Linked DNA regions of Homo sapiens: all the other regions are linked to region 1. The links are contacts of gene promoters, found by promoter capture Hi-C in human tissues and cell types (Jung and others, 2019). All regions are on one chromosome and are shown on one strand. The core of a region is centred on a gene start or on the middle of the fragment in contact, and the rest is flanking DNA. Distances in the headings are between cores, read along the strand shown.

Region 1 (4,434 bases), core at 1,145-3,644:
TGATCTCAGCTCACTGCAACCTCTGCCTCCCGGGTTCAAGCAATTCTCCTGCCTCAGCCTCCCAAGTAGCTGGGACTATAGGCGCATGCCACCATGCCCGGCTAATTTTTTGTATTTTTAGTAGAGACAGGGTTTCACCATGTTAGCCAGGATGGTCTTGATCTCCTAACCTCGTGATCCGCCCTCCTCAGCCTCCCAAAGTGCTGGGATTACAGGCGTGAGCCACCGTGTCCGGCCATGCCCAGCTAATTTTTTAATTTTTTGTAGAGATGAGGTCTCACTATGTTGTTCAGGCTGGTCTCGAACCCCTGGGCTCAAGTGATCCTCCTGCCATTGGCCTCCTAAAGTGCTAGCATTATAGGCATAAGCCACCACACTCAGCCAGAGGTGGTTATTTTAGTTAGGGTGATCAGGGAAGGCCTCACTGAGGAGGTAACATTTGAGCCGAGACCTCAGCTCCAAGCTTGGTGGAAAACACTTGGTTTTATACTTGATGAAAAAGTAAGTGCGTGTTTAGTTTTGTTCAAAACTGCCATACTCTTTTTGCAGAGTGGCTATACCATTTCACATTCCCATCAACAAAATATGAGAAACCTAGTTTCTCCACATACTCACCAGCATTTGGTGTTAGCATTCTTATTTTAGCCATTCCAAGAAGTGCGTAGTGATGAAAGCAATTGTGGTTTTAATTTGTATTTCCCGAATAAATAGCTAATGATGTTTAACATCTTTTCATGCACATATTGCCACCTGTGACAGCAGTGAAATATCCGTTCATATCCTTTGTCCATTTTCTTTATTTCAAGTTCTGGGGTACATGTGCACGATGTGCAGGTTTGTTACACAGGGAAACATCTGCCATGGTAGTTTACCGCACCCATTAACCCATCACCTAGGTATCAAGCCCAGGATGCATTAGCTACTCTTGCTGATGCTCTCCCTCCCCCCTCCCAACACCCACCCCACAGGCCCCCATGTGTGTTGGTCCCCTCCCTGTGTCCATGTGTTCTCATTGTTCAGCTCCCACTTATAAGTGAGAACATGCATGTTTAGCTTTCTGTTGCTGCATTAATTTGCTGAGGATAATAGCTTCTAGCTTCATCCATGTCCCTGCAAAGGACATGATCTCGTTCCTTTTTATGGCTGTATAGTATTCCATGGTGTATATGTACCACATTTTCTTTATCCAGTCTATCATTGATGGGCATTTGGGTTGAGTCCATGTCTTTGCTATTTTGAATAGTGCTTCAATGAACATACTCGTGCATGTATCTTTGTAATAGAATGATTTATATTCCTTTAGGTATATACCCAGTAATGGGATTTCTGGGTCAAATGGTATTTCTGGTTCTAGGTCTTTGAGGAATCACCACACTGTCTTCCACAATGGTTGAACTAATTTACATTCCCACCAACAGTGTAAAAGCGTTCTACCTTTGGCCATTTTCAAACTGCATTATCTGTTTTACAAAAATCGCTCCAGCTGCTTTACGGAGAATTAATTAATTAAAGGGTGGAGTCGACACTGCGGAAGTTCAGGAGAAGTGATGGGAGCTGGGACGGAGTGTTAGCGCTGGAGATGGAGAAAAAGGGGCACATTCTGGAATAGTCAGCACATTGGAAGTAGAGTTTACGGGACTTGCAGGAGGACACGTAGAATCAAGGACTTCCAGGTTCCTGGCGTGTCCTTTACAGAGGGAAAAAAGGTTTGAGGGAAGGGGAACCAAGGCTCTGGACATAAATCTGAATTGCCTGTCACCGTCCGGGTGGAGGTCACAGATAAAGAGCCTGATCTAGACACAGGCGGAGAGGAGAGGAGGGATTTGAGGGCGTTGGGAGGAGGAAAGGGGGGCCAGCAGGAAGCGGTGACTGGCTGAGTAACAAAATGGGGGTGGGGACGTGCAAGTTTCAGACTCCGACTAACTACGCGGGGACTCCGAGGCGCTCAGAAAAATGAAGCCGACCCGGCCCTGCCCCGAGGGACGCTCCAAGAGGGCGGAGGTGCAGGGAGGGCCCCGCCACAATTCGCGGTAACGCAAGCCAGGCTCGGGCGGAAGGGCGGCCGGAGCCGATCAAAGGCTGGCTCCGGGCAGGGGCAGCGAGGGAGCGAGGGGGAGCTCTCCGCAGGCCGGTGTCCCGGAGGAGGCATAATTGGAGCAGGGCTTCCAAGGTCACGGAGAGACGCCGGGCAAGACCTCTTAAGGATCCTCTTCCGGGCTTGAAAGGCAGGCGTCCTCCCGAACCGCGCGACCCAGCCAAGAAGAGCCGGGGCGGGGCCGGGGCCGGGGCCGGGGGCCGACTCGGGAATCTTCGGCCGAGGCTCGGCAATCCCCCCATCCTCCGTCCGGGGCCTCCAGCCCGGGGCCGATCCGGAAACAGCCGAGCGGATCCGGAAACAGCCGAGAGGACCCGGAAGCGGTGCGCTCCGTCACCAGGGAGTGCGGGAATCCGCCGTTTGCGCTGAGGCAATGGCGGCAGCTGCGCCGGTGGCCGCGGACGACGATGAGCGGCGGCGGCGGCCGGGGGCTGGTACGTGAGGGGGCGTCCGTGCAAGCGGGGAACGGTGATGCTGGGGGCGGGGCCGAGCCAGCCACCTGCGGATGGGGGGTGGAGAGGGATGATGGAGGAAGGGGCGGGGCCACGCCGTCGGGAAAGGGGGCGGGGCCTACAGCCACAGGCAAAAGGGGGCGTGGCCCGGCCATTGAAGGGGTAGGGCCAGTGACAGGTGCGAAGTGGGGCCCGGTGAGGAAGGGGCGCGGCCACTAGGAGGGCGGGGCCAGGTGGGACCGAAGAGAGGACTGAGTGAAACTGGCCACCGCGAAGAGATGGAGTGTAGGCAGCACCCGGCAGAGCGAGTGGGAAGGGGGCGGGGCAGGGGCGGGGCCAGGTGAGCCGGGCGGGCCCAGGTGAAGGAGGCCCCAGATGAAGGCAACAGTACTAGGTTGCAGGACTTGCTAAGCCGGTAGGTGGCCTGGGGTAAGAGATGGGAAGAGAGGCTGATCCCTGTCCCCCACAGCACTGGAGGACTCCCGGTCCCAGGAAGGGGCAAATGGTGAGGCCGAGTCAGGTGAGCTCAGCCGGCTTCGGGCTGAGCTGGCAGGCGCCCTGGCAGAAATGGAAACCATGAAGGCTGTGGCAGAGGTGAGCGAGAGCACGAAGGCCGAGGCTGTGGCTGCGGTGCAGCGGCAGTGCCAAGAGGAGGTGGCCTCGCTGCAGGCCATCCTGAAAGGTGAGACGCGGGACTCACCTAGACTCCCCATCAACCCCATACTGGGGAGTGCATGACGAGAAAGGGATTGGGGGCACAGATAAGCTATGGGATAGGTTAGCAGGGCTGCCTGGCACAGGGCATGCCTATGGCCCAGAGGAAGGGCCGCCCTTTTAAAATTTGCATAGAGGCCCTCCATGTGATAGCAGCAGCTCTGTCAGTTATAGCTAAGTTTAGCTCCCAGCTTCTATCTGTTGCCTTGTCCCATGTCATTTCTTGTCCCTCACTGATGATTGATCAACCCTGAAGATGGGCGAGAAACTTCTCAGTTCCCCAAACCAACCTCATTTTAGTCTGGACTTCTGGGAAATAGAATCAGCCCTGGCCCAGTCTCTGTGAGTCTAATGCTCTGCTCTCTAGCCTTCCCCAGACACTCCCCCCTCCACCCCACGCCATGCACCAGCTTCCCCACCTCCGCCCCACGTTCTTTGTACTTGGTCCTCTGGCCCCAGACGCCCCAGCTGCTGATCCTGTTTTCTACTCTCCTTCCTCTAGCAGAAGCCAGAGACTCTGAAACAGATGTCAGAGCTGCCCCCGCTGCTATGCCCCTGCTGCGGTGGGGCTCTCGTCAACTCTCTCCTGGACTTTTGTCCCAACCTTCTCACAGATCTTCCTCTATAGTGTGGCCTTGACATTGGCTTCCAGAGTAAACTTCCTAAAATTCCCTTCCCAACATGCGATTTCCCTTTCTAACAGCTGCTGGTGGCTGGAGACTTCTCTGGGGCTGTATTTCCCACATTTCAGGATCCACCTGCCTGTGCAATGTAGACACATCCTTGTACAACTTACTGTGCTGTTTACTTAATATTTGTTCTTTAAATAGATCCACATTTTAAAAGTTTACATACATTTATTAAGGGAAACTTGTTATATCTACTATATAAGAAAAGCCAGGTGTGTCCTAAATAATAACAATAGCTAGCTTTTTTTTTTTTTCTTGAGTCAATAAGAGTTTCACTCTGTCGCCCAAGCTGGAGTGCGTCACAGCACGCTGGTGTGATCTCAGCTCACTGCAACCTCCACCTCCTGGGCTCAAGCAGATCCTCCTACCTCAGCCTCCCAAGTAGCCAAGACTACAGGTGCATGCCACCATGCCTGGCTAATTTTTAGTATTTTTTTGTAGAAACAGGGTCTCTCTATGTTACCCAGACAGGTCTTGAACTCCT
Region 2 (4,434 bases), core at 660-3,159, 1.8 Mb before region 1:
TTTTACACTCTTGGAGATAATATTACACTAATGTTAAATGGAATGTGAGTATCCAACAGACCTGATATACTACAGCCCAGCCCCCGAGCACCAAAGATTCTCCAAAACTCTCCACAAATATTCCCCTGCCACATTTCTTCTGCCTCACACTCAACAATCCACAAAGCAGAAGCAGAGAAGGAACTCTTCCCACTTTCAAACCTGTGTCTGTAGGACTGGGAGCTGAGGGTGAGCAGGGGAGGGGCTGCTCTGCATGGTCCCACTCCCAGGCTCCCCCTTGGATGCCTGAAGAATGACTGGGTTGTTATCACCAGTACTGCTGGCCGAGGGGCTGGCGTCCGGCTGCAGGGCATGCTGGGAGCTGGCCTCATTCTGGGCCACCGGCCACCGGGACCCGCCTTCCAGGGCCCGGGGCCCACCAGGGCGTCCCAGCCTCCGCTCAGGTCCACCAGCCTCTGGAGCACCTAAAGTAGGGTTAAAAAAAAAAAAAAAGACAGAAATGCAGTTAAAGGGGATGAAAAAGTATTTTTAAAAAACCAGAAATAACACTGAATAAAGAGAAACACAGAAATTACAGGTTACATTTCTTGAGCACTTACTATGTATAAGATACTTTTAGTACCTGTTTGATGTGTTCTATAATCCTCACACCTACCTTAAAAACCAAGTGCTTTTCACAGCATAACAAATATTGACTTCCTCCTACACACAACGGATATAGCCATGCAGAAAGGATTCCCGACCTAAATGTAGCTTACATTCTAATATAATCTGTTTTGTAAGTTACGAAGTTAAGACCTTATGATTTGCGGAAGGTTACACAGTAAAAAAGTGATAGGAGGGCTTCAATCCACAGTCTGATGCCAAAACCAAGGAAAACCTGCTACTCTTCCTGGTAGAGCCAGGTTGACCACGTTTTCCTCAACCCACAGCCTCAGTTCTGTTGTTGTACTATAATCAAACCCTCTACAGAAAAATCACATGCAAACATTCCCATGCTTCTCTAGAGTGAAAATCCCCAATACGGACCTATAATTGCTTTATCTCAAACATTTCTCCCATTAGCATCAGCACACAAAATGGTAGCAGATCCCTCACCTGTGTGAGCTGAGACCACACCCCCTGTGAAAGTCTGCACTTCCACGGTGCCGCCGTACTGAAGGGAATCACACCTGAAACATCCATCAAAGCGTATTATTTACTCCAGTTTTTTGAGACGTTTAAATATACCCAAATCAGTTAAAAGACTAGAAACAGAAAAACTACAGTAGTAGGAAAATCTCACATTTCAGGGAAATGCAAATCATGTTTTGTGAATTCCGGAGGGACATACGATCCTGCCTGGGGGCAGGAGCAGGAAAGGAGTGAAGAAAGAAAGTTCAAAAATTTTAAGTGTAAAGGCTCCAACCACAGAATGGAAGACAAAAAAAAAATACAGCAAAAAAAAGCTGTCACATCCAGAACCTCAGAAAGGTGCTACCTGCCTGCGGGCCTTTCCAGTGAGGGCTGAACGCAGAAGTGAGAGTGGAACTCCCGGGAAGAGTCAACAAACAGGCTGGTCACAGGAAAATCCGCCCAGGATTCAGGGCAGGGCGCTGTATATCCCATACCTGCGCCTTGAGACACTTCCCCAAATACAAGAACCACAGCAAAAGGAGACTCAGGAGCAGTCAAAAGCGAGAGGCCGCACTGCCAAGAACCACGCGCCGGAAACAGGCAGTGTGAACCCGCAGGAGGCCCGGAAATGCTTCCCCAGTGTTTAAGGAAATTCCTAAACCACAGTGCCGGCTTTGATTCACTCCCTACTCCGCCACACGTTCCCAAGACCCGAGCTCACCAGAAGCCAACAAGCCTTAACTCTTGACTTCAGGTTTCGTGACCATCTCCCTAGCCCTCCCGACGGACTGACCTCGCGTGACCCCTGACCTCTGCCCAAGTTGCCACTAGCCCTGAGATAGCCCCGCCCCCTCCAGACTCCCACCCCACCCAACGTGCGCGCCGGGCGGGGGAGGGGCCCGCGCGTGCGCGGCTGGAGGCGGAGCGAGCCGGCTGCGCGCACGGCCCAGGGGCTCCCGCCAGAACCCGAGCCCACGCACACAAGGGTCGCGGGGCTGGGAAGCTCGTCATCCAAGCCCGTCAGGGAGCCCCCCCATCACCCGACCGCGAAAGGCTGAGAGAAGGGAGGGTTCGTGCCACCAGGTCCTGGTCCCCCGGCTAGATGTGGTGGGCGCGCGCCCCGACTACTCGTCCCACGCCCCCCTTCCTCTTCCCGCGCGCCCCTGAGGGGTGACTGGGTTGGTGGGCGGGCAGGAGCGCACCTGGGTCCGTCCTCTCAGGGCTCGCTCGCTCGCTCGCTCGCTCAGGCACGCGTGCGCAGAAGGGCGGGAAGGGAGAGGAGACACGCCGGGGCCCAGCGCCGGCCGGCCTGACCCCCTCAGTCTGTCTCTATGGGCGCGCGCCGACAGCCTCGCGCACCGGCCCCGGGGCCCCGGCTGAGGGTGCGCGCGCAGCACCCCGGGAAGGTGGGGGGGAGGCGGTGGCGGAAAGATGCGCGCGCAGTCAGCCGTCATGGGAGGGGGAACTGTGGGGCGTTCGCCATCTTGTCTCCCTCTCCTTACCTGCGTCCTCGGGGGCGTGCGCACCACCCCCCCTCCCGCCTAGGAGGGGGGAGGGCCCCCTCTTGGCCACCGCCTTCGCGGCCTTTAAACTCCCCTGGAGACTGCGGCTACTGCCACCGCCTTGCCTCCACTGCCTCTTCGCGCAGCACACAGATGCGGACGGTGGGTGGGAAAAAGGGCAGACGCTACTCCCAGCGAACCGCCGCTGCCGCTCCCGAGGCCTCACCAAAATGGCCGCCGCCGTCTCGGCCGCCACCACCACCACTACCACCACCACTCGCTCGGAATCGCTATCGCCGGCGCGGCCCGTCTTCTCGCGAGAGACAGTAACTGGAGGGTGGGGGAACGGGGAGGCTCGCGTGCTAGCGTAGGGTGCAGCACGGTGCGCAAGGCAGCCTGGGAGGTGTAGTCTCCCAGAGGCTGCGCGCTCGCCCTTCCTCGGAGCGCCTTTACCGTTTGCCCCTAGATCTACCTGGGGCTGCATTGCGGCTGCCAGCTCGGACCACCGCCACCTCCCTTTTTATTTACAGATCACCCAGTAAGCTGCAGCAAGTTAGCAGTGGAACCTGGGCCTCCCGATTCCCATGGCAGCCCACTTCTGTAGCGCTGCTTCGTTTTACGCGAGGATGGTTTCCTGATAGCTTTCAAACACCTTTGCCATCTCTTCGCAAACTTTCTAGATTAAGAATCCCTTTGAGAATCTGATACCTTTACCCCAGAATAGAACAATAAATAACAGCTACCTTCTACTGACACTACTTGGTGCCTTGATTATTTCTTTTAATCCTAACTGCTCCATTTTACAAACGAATTGAGGCTCAGGCGTTAAAACACAGTGACAGATCCTGAAGTCAAGATTCCTAGCCAAGCAGTCTAAGCCACAAGAATGCACTCGCTGTCATAAAATTTTACCACCTAAAGCCCCCGCTAAGAGGCCAGGTTAGGAAGCCCTGATGAAGCTCCCCTTCCTCCATTCAGTTTAGCTCTTCCCTGCGAAGAGGATTGTTGGTCCCATTTTACAGATGAAGTTTGGGTTGAAAGAAAAGTGGATGATGCCCATCTTTTCTAGACCCTCCTCCCATCACCCCCAGAAGAGGGGATCCCAGGCCAGAGCCTGAATTGGACCTAGCCTTGTGCCATTAACTCCTTGCTATGTGACCTTGAGCAATTAACTTCACCTTTCTGAGCTTCAGTTTCCTCTGTAAAGTGAGGATAGAATTGCTGATGTAAAATTGCTTTGAAAGATCTAAAGGGCCAGGTGCGGTGGCTCACACCTGTAACCCCAGCACTTTGGGAGGCCAAGGCAGGAGGATCACTTGAGGCCAGGAGCTCAAGACCAGCCTGGGTAACATAGTGAGACGTCGTCTCTACAGTAAATTAAAAATTTTAAAATTATGAAAAAATAAAAAAGCTCTAAAGGACTACCTAAATGTGGAGTATATTTCACTATAGTTCAGTGTTTCACACCCATGATCTTAAGGTCAAGGTTAGCTTTCTGATGTGCTTTACATAGTATTTATTTATGTATTCATTTGTTGAGATAGTCTTGCTCTGTCACCCAGGCCGGAGTGCAATGGCACAATCTTGGCTCCCTGCAGCCTCTGTCTCCCGGGCTCAAGCAATTCTCATGGCTCACCCTCCCAAGTAGCTGGGATTACAGGTGTGCACCACCACACTCAGCTAATTTTTGTATTTTTGGTAGAGACAGGGTTTCACCATGTTGCCCAGGCTGCTCTCAAACTCCTGACCTCAGGTGATCCACCTACCTTAGCCTCCCAAAGTGCTGTGACTACAGGTGTGAGCCACCGCCCCCAGC
Region 3 (4,434 bases), core at 1,443-3,942, 1.5 Mb before region 1:
AACCCCACCTCTACTAAAAATACAAAAATTAGCTGGGCATGGTAGTGCGCACCTATAATCCCAGCTACTCAGGAGACTGAGGCAGGAGAATGGCATGAACCCGGTAGGTGGAGGTGCGGTGAACCAAGATTGCGCCACTGCACTCCAGCCTGGGCGACATAGTGAGACTCCGTCTCAAAAAAAAAAAAAAAAGTTGAAAAATCTCAAGAAGGATGACCTTGCCCAAGGTCCTGAGCTTTGGGGAGAAGAATAAATGTAACAGCAACTATTTCCGTGTTTATTTTGTGCCAGACACAGTTCTAACTCTGTGCATGTGTTGACTCATTCATTCCTCACAACTCCAAGATGTAGGTGCTGTTATAATTTCCCTTTTACAAATGAGGAAACTGAGGCGTGGAGCGGTTAGGAAACTTGGCCAAGGTCACACAGCGGGTAAATGATGGAGCTGGAAGTCCACCCTAAGCTCTGGAGCCTGTGTTTGTAACTTAGAGGCCAAAGGTGGAGATCAGGCAATCGCAGGGCCAGAAGAGGCAGGCAGAGCTGGATAATGGGCGAAGGGGGCCCGCAACAAACACAACCAGATAGTTATTAGACTATCCAGAGGCCTAAGGAGCTAGTCCCCTCCCCCAGCACCCAGCAGGCCCACTAGGGGGCAGCAGAGCATTCTTTCCCTGGGAACTGGCTCCTGGGCAGGAAGAATCAGAGTCCCGGCCCCTGCAAGCTGGGTCCCTGGGGCCAAAGCCCTCTGCTGGTACTCAGGGCTGCTCAGGCTGGGGGCAGACAGAATCCTCTGGGGTTCTGAGAAGCGGAAACGTATCTGGTGGCAGTTAGGGTCTCCAGGGGGTGAAATTTAACTCATATTCTGATCTCAAAACCTTCAAATACCCTCAGAATAAAAGCCAGACTCCCTGTGTGGCCTGCCAACCACCCCCACTCATCCACACTACAGCATGACCGAACCACCCACCCTCACTGCTGCAGTGCACTACTCACTCGTCTGAGCCTCTATAAGGGCCATTTCTGGCTGGATACGGTGGCTCACACCTATAATCCCAGCACTTTGGGAGGCTGAGGTGGGAGGATCACCTGAACTCAGGAGTTTGAGACCAGTCTGGCCAACATGGCAAAACCCCAACTCTACTGAAAATACAAAAAATTAGCCGGGCGTGGTGGTGCATGCCTGTAATCCCAGCTTCTTGGGAGGCTGAGGTAGGAGAACCACTTGAACCCGGGAGGTGGAGGCTGCAGTGAGCCGAGATCACGCCACTGCACTCCAGCCTGGGCAACAGAGCGAAACTCTGTCTCAAAACAAAACAAAAAAAAATTAGCCAGGTGTAGTGGTGCATGCCTGTAGTCCCAGCTACTTGGGAGGCTGAGGTGGGAGGATCACCTGAGCCCAGGGAAGTCAAGGCTGCAGTGAGCTGTACTGCACTACAGCTTGGGTGACTGAATGAGACCCTGTCTCAAACAATAACAACAGTAATAATAAAAGAGCCATTTCCTCTGACTGGGTCCATCACCCCACTTCTGACCCCAGACTCCTACTAGTCTCACATAAGCCATCCTTTTACTTTGAGACCTGTGGCCAGTTACCAAACTGCCCTGGGCCTCAGTCTCCTCATCTGTAAAATGGAATAAATGCTACCGACATCATAGAATCGAGGTGCTTAGAACAGTGCCTGGCACATAGAAAATGCTAGGCAAGGGTTAGCTATTGTTACTGTTGCTGTTGAACTAACCTGACCTTTCCCCAACCTCTAAATCTGAGTTAAGTTCCCACTTCTAGGCTTCATCATCCCCCTGTACCTGCAGCCATCACACGGGATTCTAACTGTGTGGTTACCCTTCAGTCTAACATCAAGCTCCATGGGGGATCCAAGGACGGAGTTTAATCTCCTGCACCCAGCAGGAAGCCTGGGACAGTAGGCGTGACTTTTGTATGATGGAAGCCCAGGCAGTAGGGCAGAAGGATGGGCCAATCCTGAGGTTTTAGATCCGAGATTCTGGGAAAAGTAGGGGCAAGATCCCTGGCTTCTATCTGAGGGAGGCTGGGCCTGGACCAGGTTTGGGGACAGTGTGCCCCAGGGTGTGTGTGACACATACCTCCTTGTTGTCCATGGGGATCTTGAGTTTCACCACCTCATACTTCTCCTCACCCTCATCCTCCTCACCCTTCACCAGCAGCACCATCTCCTCCTGCATCTCTTCCTCCTCCTCTTCCTCTGCCTGCTGTTCGCCAGGCATCTTGGTGTCCTGAGGCGGGGAGCTGGATCAGAAGCTCAGGACCCGCCCCCCCCCACCCCCCCCCCCGCCCACCGTGGCCCTGGCCCAGCAAGGCAGTGCAGCCGTGGCTTCTCCCGCCCTGCCCTGGTCTCCGAATCTGGTCCTCTCCCGTCCACCCCAGCCCGGCCCCACGCTCTGGCACAGCCCCGGGACCAGCTCCGAGGGCTCGCGTTCACCCCACTCATCCCAGCATTCAAGGCCTTGAACAGTTCGAATCTCCAGCCCCCGCAAGTCGCCACCATCCTTGCGCTGAGTCACTCCCCAGGGCCCGGGTCGGCGACCTGGAGCTCTGGGGCACGGGCTGGAGGCGGGATCGGGGCGGAAACCCCGGGGAGGGGGTGCGCACTCACCAGCCGAAGGTTCGGCACTCGCGGTGCCCCAGGCCTGGGCGCCGGGCGGCTGGGCACTCAGCGAGGCCGCGGCTCCGGGGGCGGGGAGGGGGCGGGACCGCAGGGACGGCCGGTCATTGGTCCGAACATATAGCCCCACCCCCTGGGGCGGAGCCCGAAGGACCCAGGCGTCCGGCCCAAACGGCTCGGAGAGGGCGGCGAGCTCAGACTTGGCGTCCTCCGCAGTCCCCCGACTCCCAAGCACCTGGAGCCGCCCCAGCCCGGCGTTCAAGGTCCTTGCCGCCGAGTTCCAACCTAACCTCGCGGCCCGTCTCCTGGGGCCGGCTTGGAGGTCTCCGCTGCGCCCAGTGCCTCTGCTCCGCCCGAAATAGGCCACGTGCGCTCCCGCCCCGGCCTGGGCCTCTCCCTGGCGCCCCGCCTGGAGGGCGGACCCTGTTGCCTCCTCACTTCTTCCATTCCCTCTTTATCTCCTCTGCCGTCTTTTCTCCATCTTTCTCGGCTTCGCCTATTCCGCTGGCCTCTGGGATATCCTTGAATACATCCTAACCAATTCAACATCCACCCAAGCTACCGCTGTCGCGTCATGCGTGGGGTGCTTACCATGCGCCAGCGCTGTTCAGCGTCTTACATACCTGGTCTCATTTGATCCGCATAACGATGGGTCCTGATCCATTTTACAGATGAGCTCACTGAAGTTCAGGGAGGTAAACTGATTTGCCTAAGTTACACGATAAGGATGTCATAGCATCCCTGACAATCAGTAGCCTAGGTGAACAACAGCCCAAAGCTAAATCCAGTCCACAGGGGTACCTTGTTTGGCCCTTAGGGTATTTTTACTTTTAAAAAATCTTTTCGGACGGGCACGGCGGCTCACGCCTGTAATCCCAGCACTTTAGGAGGCCGAGGCGGGCGGATCACGAGGTCAGGAGATAGAGACCATCCTGGCTAACACGGTGAAACCCCGACTCTACTAAACAAAATACAAAAAATTAGCTGGGCGTGGTGGCGGGCACCTGTAGTGCCAGCTACTCGGGAGGCTGAGACAGGAGAATGGCGTGAACCCGGGAGGCGAGCTTGCAGTTAGCCGAGATCGCGCCACTGCGCTCCAGCCTGGGCGACAGAGCGAGACTCCGTCTCAAAAAAAAAAAAAAAAAAAAAAAAAAAAAATCGTTTCAAAGCCGGGCGCGGTGGCTCATGCCTGTAATCCCAGCACTTTGGGAGGCGGAGGCCGGTGGATCACTTGAGGTCAGGATTTCGAGACCAGCCTAACCAACATGGTGAAACCCCGTCTCTACTAAAAATACAAAAATTAGCCAAGCTTGGTGGTGCATGCCTGTAATCCCAGCTACTCGAGAGGCTGAGGCACGAGAATTGCTTGAACTGGGGAGGCAGTGGTTGCAGTGAGCCGAGATCATGCCATTGGTCTCCAGCCTAGGCAACAAGAGCGAAACTCCGTCTCAAGAAAAAAAAAATTAAATTGGGATATTTCATATAAAAATAGATTTTTTTTTAGTGGAATAAACAAATGCCACTTCCTTTGAAAAACAGCCACTTCCCTTGAAAAAGCAGATATCTAATTTTCCCATTTTATGAATGGGGCAACTAAGATTCAGAAATCATGAAGGAAAACAGAAATAACATTCAGTAAGTGCTTACAAGTTCTATGTTGTCTCTTTACAACAGCCCTGTTGGGATCAATAATATCTCCATTGGACAAAAGAAGAAACGGAAGCTTAGACAAGTTAAGTAATTTGCTCAAAGTCACACAGCTGGCAAGCAGCAGATTCAAAGCTTGTGCTCT

The links. The method cuts DNA at HindIII sites, captures the fragments that hold promoters and counts their contacts. A contact is called where the count stands out against the background at its distance.
Region 2: the fragment with the promoter of SRCAP here is called in contact with the fragment with the promoter of RABEP2 in region 1 in 1 of the 25 tissues and cell types used here (stomach).
Region 3: a contact is called between the fragment with the promoter of ZNF771 here and the fragment with the promoter of RABEP2 in region 1, in 1 of the 25 tissues and cell types used here (small bowel).

What each region holds. Positions count from the first base shown.
Region 1 is chr16:28,923,198-28,927,631 of GRCh38, reverse strand. It overlaps RABEP2 (rabaptin, RAB GTPase binding effector protein 2), which reads left to right and starts at 2,394. Exons shown (of 13, transcript NM_024816.3): 1 at 2,394-2,529; 2 at 3,017-3,229. The coding sequence starts at 2,469. RefSeq lists enhancers at 1,351-1,934, 2,913-3,142, 3,173-3,262 and silencers at 2,153-2,502, 2,533-2,752. The HindIII fragment of the contact is 23,237 bases long and covers 1-4,434 here.
Region 2 is chr16:30,696,646-30,701,079 of GRCh38, reverse strand. SRCAP (Snf2 related CREBBP activator protein) reads right to left here and starts at 1,909. Exons shown (of 34, transcript NM_006662.3): 1 at 1,838-1,909; 2 at 1,099-1,172; 3 at 202-464. The coding sequence starts at 255. It overlaps LOC730183 (a long non-coding RNA gene), which reads left to right and starts at 2,020. Exons shown (of 2, transcript NR_144637.2): 1 at 2,020-2,199; 2 at 3,149-3,373. RefSeq lists silencers at 1,889-2,118, 2,259-2,668 and enhancers at 1,838-2,132, 2,789-2,978, 3,009-3,098. The HindIII fragment of the contact is 12,049 bases long and covers 1-4,434 here.
Region 3 is chr16:30,405,864-30,410,297 of GRCh38, reverse strand. It overlaps ZNF771 (zinc finger protein 771), which reads right to left and starts at 2,692. Exons shown (of 3, transcript NM_001142305.2): 1 at 2,634-2,692; 2 at 2,104-2,253. The coding sequence starts at 2,244. RefSeq lists silencers at 633-722, 2,557-2,766, 2,789-2,968. The HindIII fragment of the contact is 10,608 bases long and covers 1-4,158 here.